Linked DNA regions of Homo sapiens: region 1 is linked to region 2. The links are contacts of gene promoters, found by promoter capture Hi-C in blood cells and fetal thymus (Javierre and others, 2016). All regions are on one chromosome and are shown on one strand. Each heading gives the region's core, a stretch centred on a gene start or on the middle of the fragment in contact. The rest is flanking DNA. Distances are from core to core; before and after follow the strand shown. Region 1 overlaps LOC105375444 (a long non-coding RNA gene). Region 2 holds the start of GPR22 (G protein-coupled receptor 22).

Evidence for each region. Contacts are between HindIII fragments. The CHiCAGO score rates a contact against its expected background, and 5 or more counts as called.
Region 1: a contact is called between a fragment that was not itself captured here and the fragment with the promoter of GPR22 in region 2, in 1 of 17 cell types (naive CD8 T cells). The highest score is 5.6, in naive CD8 T cells.

Annotation. Positions count from the first base shown.
Region 1 is chr7:107,853,711-107,859,738 of GRCh38, reverse strand. LOC105375444 (a long non-coding RNA gene) reads left to right here. Exons shown (of 3, transcript XR_927850.3): 3 at 2,623-3,260. Among named protein-coding and RNA genes, the nearest start is that of DLD, 34 kb to the left of the region's middle. The HindIII fragment of the contact is 3,556 bases long and covers 1-3,084 here.
Region 2 is chr7:107,468,462-107,473,908 of GRCh38, reverse strand. It overlaps GPR22 (G protein-coupled receptor 22), which reads right to left and starts at 3,852. Exons shown (of 3, transcript NM_005295.3): 1 at 3,464-3,852; 2 at 1,607-2,537. All of the region lies in intron 6 of COG5 (component of oligomeric golgi complex 5), which reads left to right. The HindIII fragment of the contact is 4,703 bases long and covers 811-5,447 here.

The sequences.
Region 1 (6,028 bases), core at 57-2,556, 390 kb before region 2:
CCCAGCCCGTCTAATGCCCAGCTCATACTTTTCTACTCCACCATGCTGCTCCCGGGGTTTCTGCACTCAGAATATGTGTACATGGAGATTGTTCACAAAGGGCCAATATGAGAGCGTTTCTACAAACCATTCGGTGCTTATTCCAGGGTAAGTGAAAGATCTGTCAGGCAATTAAATAAAATCCAGTTTGTTGAGGTATAACTTGCGTACACACAATTTATCCTGTTTAGCCAACCAATTCTATGATTTTTAACACGAAACTGCCATCAGAAACAAAATATAGAAGGGTTCCATCATCCAAAAAAGTTCCCTTATGTCCCTTTATAGTCAGCCCTTAACATCCCAAACCCAGTTTCTGGTAACTACTGATCTATTTTTTATCCCTATGGTTTTGTCTTTTCCAGAATGCCATGTAGGTGGAACTTTACACTATGTAGTTGAGAGTCATGCATGTGGTTCCCTAATCATTCGTTCATTTATCGGGTAAATTTTACTGAATGTTAAATTTGTTAAGTTATCAGATAGTCAATAAATATGTATTAGGCTGGGTACTGCTCCAGGTATGGGGGGACAGGAGTGGGAACAGCAGGGACCGCAAGGATCTGAGTTCCTGCCTTCAATGAGCTCATGTTCTCATATTGGGCTGGTTTGTGGGTTGGGGGAAAACAAGCAAAAAACACATAAACAGGGCTTTAAAATAATTTAGTTTTAAGTCCTGCTAAGTGCCAGACGTGGCTCTAATAGGATAATGAGAGAGTGGTAGAAATGGGCAGAGAGGCCGGGTGCAGTGGGTCACGCCTGTAATCCCAGCACTTTGGGAGGCCGAGGTGGGCAGATCACGAGGTCAGGAGATCCGGACCATCCTGGCCAACACGGTGAAACCCCGTCTCTACTGAAAACACAAAAAATTAGCTGGGCGTGGTGGCGGGCGCCTGTAGTCCCAGCTACTCCAGAGCCTGAGGCAGGAGAATCACTTGAACCCGGGAGGCAGAGGTTGCAGTGAGCCGAGATTGCACCACCGCATTCCAGCCTGGGTGACAAGCAAGACTCCATCTCAACAAAAAAAAGAAGTGGGCAGAGAGTGCTGATTTATCTAGAGTGGTTTGTTGAGTGGATGTGAATTGAGACCCAGATAATGAGAGGGGGACAGCCGTGCAAAGATCTAGGCAAGAGGCACGCAGCAGAAGGAGGAACAAGTGCAAAGGCCCAGAGCAGGGCTGAGCTTGGTGCATTCGTTCAAGAGATAGAAAGCTGAAGGGACTGGAGTGCTGAGGACCAGGAAGCAAGTTGTGGGTCACTTGGGAGAGCCATGAAGGAGCCCAATCAGGCGGGTTTGGTAGGCCAAGACTGGAGGGTAAGTTTTTCTCTAGTTGTAAGAGGAAGCCTTGGAGAGTTTTAAACCAGAGAGTTATGTAACCTGATTTACACCTGGTAAAGATACCTCTGCCTGCTGCGTGTTGTATGGACTGTGCTTGACAGGGAGGAGAGTGGGATAAGACTGGAGGCAGGAGATGGGCCTGGAGGCTTCCTCAGTGTTGAAGGGGGAGCTGACGGTGACTTGAACCAGATTGTGGCACTGCAAATGGTGAGAAGTGTTGGAACTTACTACTTTCGTGGTGTGGTGGATAAAGAAAAAGAATCCCAAAAGCAGTTACATTTTAGTATTTATTTTAAAAGCTGACTTCAAAAATCTCATTGATGCAAATCTGGAGAAATACACAAAAGTTTAAAACTCTCTATAATACAAAGTAGGTTGGTGACTAATTTGCACAATGCAAGTAAACTAGTCTTGATACTCGAGGTCAAAAAGCCTAAACTTGGGGATTAATTTAGTTTTGCTGTATACACTGACGGAAATAATCCAGTAGCCTCCATAGCCCCCACTCCACTTTGTGTTATGAGGACAGCAGGCAGTCAGCACACATGCACTGACTCATATGATACCCACATTCAAAGAGCTTTAACGTGTTGGTTGGATTCCAAAGTAAAAAGAATAGAGACTCATTGCCATGGTTGTACCTGGTCAAGGTCACACCCCAGCCACACTTCTGAGCCATTTGGCTTAGAAATGGGAAACATTATAAAGTTGAGTCAGGAATATGGCAAACCTCCAACCAGAGTAAACTATTTAAAAAATTCACATTTTCTTGTGGCCTTCAGTTTTTTCTCCTTGACATCCTCTGTTCTATCAAGACATTAAGTCCCATGGCCCATGCAAAAGACACTTGGTGCTGTGTTCTGAGATTATCATTTTGATCTACATCTGACTACCATTTTTCCAGCCAAGACCAGCCTTCCTTGTAAATAAAGATCTGTTCAGAGGATATGAAAGAATACATATTCAAGGAGTGCTCTATTCCTTTAGCTGTTCAAAGGATTTGAGGACTTTGTTTGTTTTGAAACAAGTAACCGGCTTTCTCTAACCACGTAACCTCAACCTCACAGGACAGCCAGCAGGAAGTCAGAAATGAAGAACAGCCGATGACCTGGGTGCACTCTCTGGGTGCAGCCTGCTGTTGTCCTGTCCCCACCCTTGTCCTGTTTTTCACTTGTCTTGTTGTTTTTAAGAAAAATTTTTGTCTGCTCTGAGGATCTTCTGCTGATCTCAGGTTTTTCTTTCAGGTAATACATATGACAGGTGCTGGACAGAGCTGAACTGGAACAAGGGTCTGCAGCCATTCACAGAGGGCATGTCAATCTGTGTTCACTCAGGCAGGAGGCAGGAACATGCAGGATGGGAATGGGAAAGTAAACAGGAGTGGCCATGGACTCCTGGCCTCTTCTCTCCATGAGGTTTTCTCACCGAGAGCCTGCTCCAGGGAAGGTGGTTGGCCAAGGCCTGGGGAGCAGCTTTGTGAGGCCTAGGAAGACCCCAGAAGAGGACTTTGCTGAGAAGAGAGCAGACAAGAAGTCAGGAGTGGGGTGAGAGCAGCTTCTCCCTCTCCTTCGCACACTTGTACATAGGCATTCTCCCTCTATTTCCAGCTCCTGCACCCAAGCTATAAAAACAAGTATGGCCTACTGTAAGGCATTCCACAATAAAGACCTCATTCCTTCTGAAAACTTTTCACACTATAAGAAGCTTCTTCTGAAAGGCAAGCGCAGTCACTAGCAACTAACACTGTAGCCACTGCTATTCATCTTTCTAGGTATTAAATAACATCTATTTGAGGGCAAGAGCGGAACACAAGAGACATATCCAGAAGGAGAAAAGAGAGAGAAAATGAAAAGGGAATTAATTGGTGAAGTGGGATGTACCAATTTTTCCTCAGGGTTGCCTGTATTCAAAATACAAAAATACTCTGTGAGTATGAAAGTATTCAAAAATATTCGGTGAGCAATTTTCAGTGTACATTATTTATCAAATAAGCATTTTTTTCTGCACCTTGGCACATAATAGGTGCTCAATAAAAGTTATTGTTATTACTGGTATTAGTACTGTTGCTGTAATGCTATTACTGCATGCCATGTTAACATACTGTTCTGGGTTCTAGGGATAGAGAGGGGCAAAACCTAGTCTGTGTCCTCAAGAACTTACAGCCCAGAAGGGGGACAAGTGAGTTAGTGGCAGGTCCTGACACAGTGTTAATAAATGCTGTGATTAATGTCAGCATTAATAATATGACTAATGCTATTAATGTCAGCATAAACGCTGAGCCAGAATGGACCAGACTTTTATGGGAGTCTATAGGAGAAACACTGGCTAGGAGTGGGGCAGGGATGAGCACTGCTTTCCAAGAAAATAGTCACTGAGAGGAGTCTCAAAAGACAAATAGAAACTGGCCAGGTATATCAAAGGCTTTCTTTTTGTTAAGAAACAGGGTCTTGTTCTGCAGCCTCAAACTCCTGGGCTCAAGTGATCCTCCTGCCTCAGCCTCCCTAGTAGCTTTGACTACAGGCATGCACCATCATGCCCAGCTGTTTTTTGGTAGAGATGGGGTCTGCTATGTTGTCCAGGCTGATCTTGAATTCCTGGCCTCAAGGGATCCTTCCACCTTGGCCTTCCAAAGGTGCTGGGATTACAGGCATGAGCCACTGTGCCCAGCCAGTCAGAGTCTTCATTGCAAGTGACAGAAACAGACTGGCCATTTTAAGCAGAGAATGTATAGAGAGACTATCAGATGATCATACAATTTCTAGGAAACATGGAGAACAAGATTTGGGAAAGTGGTGCCAGTGAGGTGAGGATGCCATTGGTGGTGTGGCATCACAGACTGGCTGCTGGAAATCACATGCTGCTGCCCCCCTCACTCCTGCCAACCACCACGGCCAAAGGGAGTCTTCCTTGCCCTGCTTGTTTGTATCATTACTTCCAGATTCAATATTGCTAATAGGTGCAGCTGATGGACCAAGCCAAGGCTATCTCCCCACATCTTATCTGCCAAGGTAGCGGCAGATTGAGTGCTGGGTCTTTTCAACTTCTGTAAAGGAAGACAAGCACTGTCTCCCAACAAGGCTCACAAGTGAGGAATGTCCTCACACATTTGGAGAGGATCCAGAGGACATGAGTCAACACGTGCCAAAGACTCTCCACCACGTGAAGCAGGGAGGAAAGGGTCTAGTGGAGAGGGAACATGACCTGGGGGTGTTGGGGGTAAGACACAGCATAATGGAGGATGAGGACAATAACTCACTTTGACTGGAGCATGGATTATGAGAGGGAGATAACTGAAGAGGAAGCTGGAAAGGTAGAGAGTCTAGACCAAAGAAAAGCCTTGTATATTCTGTGCCTGACGAGGAGTTTGGTCTCTATTTTGTGAAAGAAGACATAGCGATTTATATTTAGGGCTTTGGAGGGGAATAGAGGTGGGGTAGGGGTTGGCAAGGAAGATCAGAGTTTCGAAATTTGAGACGTGCACTCACAAGTCTTCCCAGAGAACATCTTCTCTGTAGTTCTAGGTCAAGGACATTTATTTAGCTTTTGTCATCATCTTGCCAACCATGGCTTTCCATTCTGCCTTTTTGCATCATAAGTTAACTTCACCTTCCCCAGATTGCATCTATCACACAGGCTGATTTTGGGCTATGCATTGTTCTTGTATTTGAGGGATATGTAGACACAGGTGGAAACTGGCCAGGATTGCAAGAACTGGTTTGTTTAGAGCCAACACAAACACCCAGCTACATCTATATTTTCACAATAGTATGTACACTGCACTAAGACACAGAGGCAAATTGTGAAAAGCATATATCCTCTTGTGATCTTAATTCATTGGGAAAAAGTACAATATAGAGATGTCTGCAGGTGTCACAGAGTAAAGTGGAGGCGTAACAACAATCCAGTTAGTGGGGGGCTGTTGTTCTGATAGGAATTTGTAGGCTAGAATGGGAATTTAGTAGAAAACTAGTTTCCCATCTCCTGGAGAGTCAAAGCTGTCTCCTTTCAGGCCAGGAGAAAACACAAGGATGAATAACATCTGGGGAGGCGATGCTCTGGGTGAGGCACCAGGAGTTGGTGCAATCACAGACGTTGTCTGCAGCACTTGTGTGAAAAGGCAAAGAGGAAACCCATTTCCATCTTCATCAGGGGCAAAAGAAAGAAACTAATTCAGACTCAGTTCAACATGTCTTTCCAATTCACCATCTCTCCCCTACCTGCCCAATCACACCTGCCCACAGAATGAACCATTACAGCAATCTCTGTAAAATGACCTCCGGTCCCCTAGTTCAGGAAGAGGTGATGTTCGGGGGTACATGGTTGATGAGTGCAAGGGTAGGAACACCCCCAAACCCTAAGACATCTTCTCAGTGAGCCCCACCTCAGCTGCCTCTGCTTCCCAGGTCCTTCTCTGCGTTTGTTAACGTCTGGAATTCCTTGGTTGGAACAGATAACAGCATCTCAATAAGTGAGGGTGATTCTTGTACGGTTCTTGACAGCAAAGGATGCCAGACGTTTCGTGATTTTGAGTCTAGAAAACTCTATAATTTCTTTGTGAGGTCTCACAAAAGTTTAAAGTGAGAATGCTTTGGATAGCTATATCTGTATATGTTTCTATGCAGATTTAGAACTTATGAATTTTAAAGGATT
Region 2 (5,447 bases), core at 2,603-5,102:
ATAGAAAATGTAGAATTAAGAACCATCAAGTTTGCATTGTTTTGATATAAAAGAAAATTGTGTTTTCCTTTTGAAGAAATAACTATGGAAATTGTTCCTCTGTAGTGCAAAGTTAATATGCTAAAGGGCTTTTCTCATTTGAGTATTTCAAGCTTATTATTTGAGATAAAGTGTATTTTTGTATGATAAAACTTCCTAGCATACAAAATTAATTTCAGCCCAGTGTCTTAAAATTTCATTTAAATGTTGTGAGTAGGTACCAAATGAATGCTATTTTAATATGCTCTAGCATAATGAGTGTAGGTGTAATTATTCCTGTGAGATTTCAAATGAACAGGACAAGTGTTCATTTAAAATGACAAATGGTACAGAGCACTAGTTTAAGATGCTTTATCCATGTTGATTGAATTCATATTCAGAAGTCAACAATGTGCTTGGTGATATTTGGGGTTATTTCCCACAGAAATAGGCCAGTGATTAATATTTTACATATCACAGTTACAATGCTCACTGAACTTTGCAGTTGGCAAACTTAAAAATTAGAAGAAGTGGGACATTATGCTAAAATAAAAAGCTACAAAGCTTGGTAAAAGAGCATTAATCACTCCTATGAAATGATTTATTTTGTGACCACACCCTCTTGTATCTTGTGGAAACAGAAAATTGAAATTTAATATCACATTAAGAAATAGCCATTTTTGAAGTAGTTTAAAGGAATATATCAGTTGACATTGTTTAAACTGAGTTTTTAAAGTAAAAGATGAAATTTTAGGGAAAAGGAGTATGTGAAGCCCGTTTTTTGAGGAAGCTTTTAAAGTTACACATTACCTGTGAAGCCTTTTGTATATATCACCCATTGTCTAATTTTGAAGAAAAATTAAAAAAAAATACAAACGCTTTTGCTAATTCATGCAAATCTATATTTTAATATATAGGGGTTTAGAATAATTTGTAAAAAATAATGTCTAATGTTCTGGGCTAAAATGTCAGTTAATCAGTATATTCATTTTAAAATATGAACTCATACAACCAACTATATTTCACATTTCAAATACAGCATTTCAACTGCAAAATCATATTCAACATAAATTATAAAAGCTAATAATTTTCAAAATTCATGTTAACTTTCACTTAATGTTATATTTGACAAGTTTTAGAATACAGTTTTATTTATGAACTTTTTTGGGAATAATATTGCAGAAACACAAATGGTAACATTATTTCTTTTGAATTAGTATGAAGTATTACTAGAGGTATATTTATTCGAGTAAGTTAAGGTCTTAGCTAACATTGAAATCCTATAAAAATGGAAAATTTTAAGTGTGCCAAATTTTCTGAACTGACAGATTAAACATCAGGTCTTTGTCACATCAGTTAGATTTATAATTAAATAAAGCAGAAATGTCAAGTTAAATGATGATTAAGAAAAATACATTTTCTCTAGAGCAAGATTCTGTTCTTTCGTAAATGTTAAACAGTGTGGTGGGGTGCATGCATCTTCTGACCTACCTGTTTGCTGTTGCCTTATGGGCCTTTTGGTTCACTATGACAGTTTTTGGCAAATTGATACATGATATCATTGACAGATTTTGACATGAATTTTTACCTGACAACAGTGAAGTAGCTGTGTTTTATTTCATGTCTTGTAGGAATTCTTTCGTTTTCTCTCCAATACTTCAACTGCATGCATTATGAGATTTAGTTGGCTGATGGATTTCTAAAGAACAGTACATAATATTTGTATTTGTTTTGCTTTAAAAAGTCACGGCCAAGAGGAATTTCCTCAGATGATAGGAATTATGTTTCCCTTTGATGGAGTACATGATAATATTTCTTTATTTTCCAGAATATGTGAAAACAAAAAAGGAAACATAACGTTTGTAGCTTCTAAAATATATTTAGACATCCTTTTGTTACCATTGTAAATCTGTTTTTAATAGCAGTGCTCACTATTTTGAAATGATTTCTTGATCACATAACTTGCTTTATATTATAAATCCAGGCCATGTCCTTTTGATAAAAACCATCTGCTGTTTAATTTTGTTTGTTTTCATTAGAAGAGGATACATAATTGGTCATAAAAGTCAGATAGAAAAATCCATTAGTCATACCAATTGATATGAATATCTGAATATTTAGTGCAGAAAACACTTCCTAAATCTTCCTTTTGTGTGCTGATAAAGTATTTTCTTTTCTTTTTGGAAATTCATGTTTCATTATGTCTTCCAGAATCAGTAACTTCCACAATTCTGGTATATGAAAGTATAAACTTCCCCTTTTAAAAATTCTTTTCAGGCTTTTACAGTTATATTGTTTTTCTTTTTGTGGTTATTTTATGTAGCATCTTCTTAGGATACAGTTGATTTTTTATATTCCATCAGTAATGTAGACCTATTCCCTGGTTTTAACTCCTTAATGTCTTAAAGTCGTGTTACAAGAACATCTTGCAGTTCGTAGTTCAGACAGCTAGGGAGATGCTCAGTCAATTGCATTCTTCATATTGTCAGTTGTAAATACTGAATTAGCTGCTATTGGCCCTTGTGAAAAGAAGAAAATTGGTTAAGAAATAGGGTTTTTAATAATTTGTAATTAATTGCAAGTTACTTTAGTTTTGTTTAAAAACTATCCAGTATTTGTTATCAAAATAACCAAACTGTTATTATTAGAGCCACAGCTATATGCATAAAATTGTTTCTTTAAATAAGTCTTTTTTCCTAATAAAGATTGTATATATTATGTTATTTAACAATAGAGTTCACATTTCAAATACAATTGTGAGAGAAAAGCTATATTTTTTAAAACTAATTTCTGCTCTCATTTTAGAAGCTAACCTGTATTTTCAGAGATGATGAACAATTAGCATACACTAAACATACTGTTATTTCTTCTTTGTAATAAATTTAACAACATTTTTTGCTCTAAAAATATTGTAACTTGCCTAATTATTAGCACATGGTTTGAATTTTAACTCATTAAAACAGATTTCATAAGATACTATAAATTTCCATTGATGAATTGTTCATGTGGTTGAAATACAAAAGGTAATAAAAATTGTAACTGCAAATTAATTTTCAGTGAACATGCCAAATAATAAACTTAACATAAAATTAAGTAATAAGTAACAGCAAAATAGTAAACCTAGTTCTTTTAAGAAACAGAAGCATTTTTGAAACACTGGAGAAAAACTGTACTGATTACATTAAGAATATTTAGTATATCTGAAGTGACTCAAAAGCTGTCTTCATAATGAATTTACAAAGAATATTTGTATTTAACAATGCATCCTAAAAAATTACATTTAAAATGTAGCATGTCTTAAAAGAAATAGATCTTAAAATACATGTCTAGCAATAAGTAGAATTAAACAAACTCTTAAAATTTAGGCTGAAATTTTTCAAAGTAATTTTTACCCCACTATGCCGGTTCAAAAGCAGCTGTATACTATAATAGGAACAAATCTTACCTCTGCTAAAGATTTGATAAATTCTTGATGTAGTTGAAGCATTTCCAGTTTGGATTGATTCATTTTGTTCACTTGTTAGTAGAGGACTGGGGGAAGAGGGTCATAAACATCTCTTCGAAAATGACCTTAATGAAAATATGTGTCTGTAGTGTGCCATTGTTTCAGCAGTACTGCTAATGTATGGAACATGTAGTGCTGCTTAGAGGCTGCTGCAGTCTCTCACTCTTCCTACTGTGGAATCAATAAGCATCTGAAAATACATAATGAAAGTAATTTAACATACTGAAGGCTTCTTGTCTCCAGAGACAACATTTAGATTCAGTCTTTCTAAAAAGGAACGGCACTGCTTTTCAGAGGAAAGCCTGTTCGGGCAGCTTTTGCAGAATGACAGCCTACCTTGTCGCTTCTCTCCACTGCAGAGAGATGCAGTGTATTCACTAATTTTGATTGGTCAGTTGTATTGGGCTTAAACTGTGCTTCATATGTATAGCAGGGATTTCCCCCGCTCCCCACTGTTTTATATAAAGGACACTTTTAAAAAGGCTAAATTTATGAGTGGTTGTATGTTGTTCTTAAATAGAATATGTGTAAATTAGTATTTTAAAAATGTGTATTCTATTCTGGTTTGTTGGTCACTTATGCCAAACATTAAAAAAAAATGCAGGGAGGTGGGGGAACAGGAAAGAATTACATAGTAAAAAGTATATATGCTTTCTAAAGCCTTGATAATTGCATTTGAGAATATTTTAGTCATATATAGGTTTTTGATTGAGATTCTTTGTTCTACAAATAGAAACCCACTGCATCTTTACTGTGAGCCACAGTGAATTTTAAATAGTTTGTTTGTATTCAAGTCATCTTCTCTGGGTATTCCAAATTGTTGTGAGCATCTCAAGGTGTTAAACATTGTCATGACTTCAGTATTCATTCATTTGGGTATTCATTCATTTCATTCATTCATTCATTCAAAATAATAATCAGATTGACCTAAGGTGATAATACCCTAAAATATTTTTTAAACATTTCATTATAGTAGCTTAGTCTCGGGTATAAAACTTCAATCAGTAATCATTGTATTACTTTTGGAGATTACTACTTGGTCTTCACCTTTCATAACCCTTTTATTTGGTAGATGTATACTGATCATTTGCTATAATATTTTATTTCAATTGGCTTATTCTATTTTTGACCTGGGCACATTTCTTAGTAGATTGCTGTTTCTTAAATATGATATGTAGCTACACGCTAATATTGTTAGTAAAATATTATTTTAAAGGATAAAGTAAGTTACATGTCTTTATAAGTTATAAAGCCAAATCATTATAAGATAGATACATTTTCAAAATGAAAATAATGGTACAAGTACTGAATATTTAAAATTAAATATTTAAATATTTAAATTAAAAATTTTAAATTAAATTAAATTTAAATTAAATTTAATATTAAAAATAAAATTAAAATATTTAAAATTAAATTTCTGTTAATTTTAGTTACCTATAAATAAGTTCCTGTTTTTAATGATGAGGATAAATTTCTTTTAGACTTAAGTAGATAAAACAGCTGGACTCTGTTGACAAAATAGAGGACATTACATGTGGCTAAACTGTTAGAATGTTAATTATCACCTGTTTCCATTATTTTAGGAATATTTAGTGACCTTCATTTTTCAAAATGTATACTGGTTTTTATTTGCAATTGGAACTATTCTCTTATTATTTGAAAAGCCGTATGCATTTTTATAATCTTCCACTGGTAGTGTTGAATCTTTATAGGGGAATAGCTGACCAATATGAGTTGTGAGTTGCATTTCTATAGAAGTTGAGAGTAATATGGTGGAAAATTTTGTTGTGAATTTCTAAAATCTTCTGCACAGCTTTGGGTGGCAAGGCTTTGGTAATTCTAAAAATGAAAATGTTGTGCTGCTATTCATGCGTTTTGAAAGTTGGGGAAAAGGATCTTGCTAGAATGCCAGCCATTTATAAAG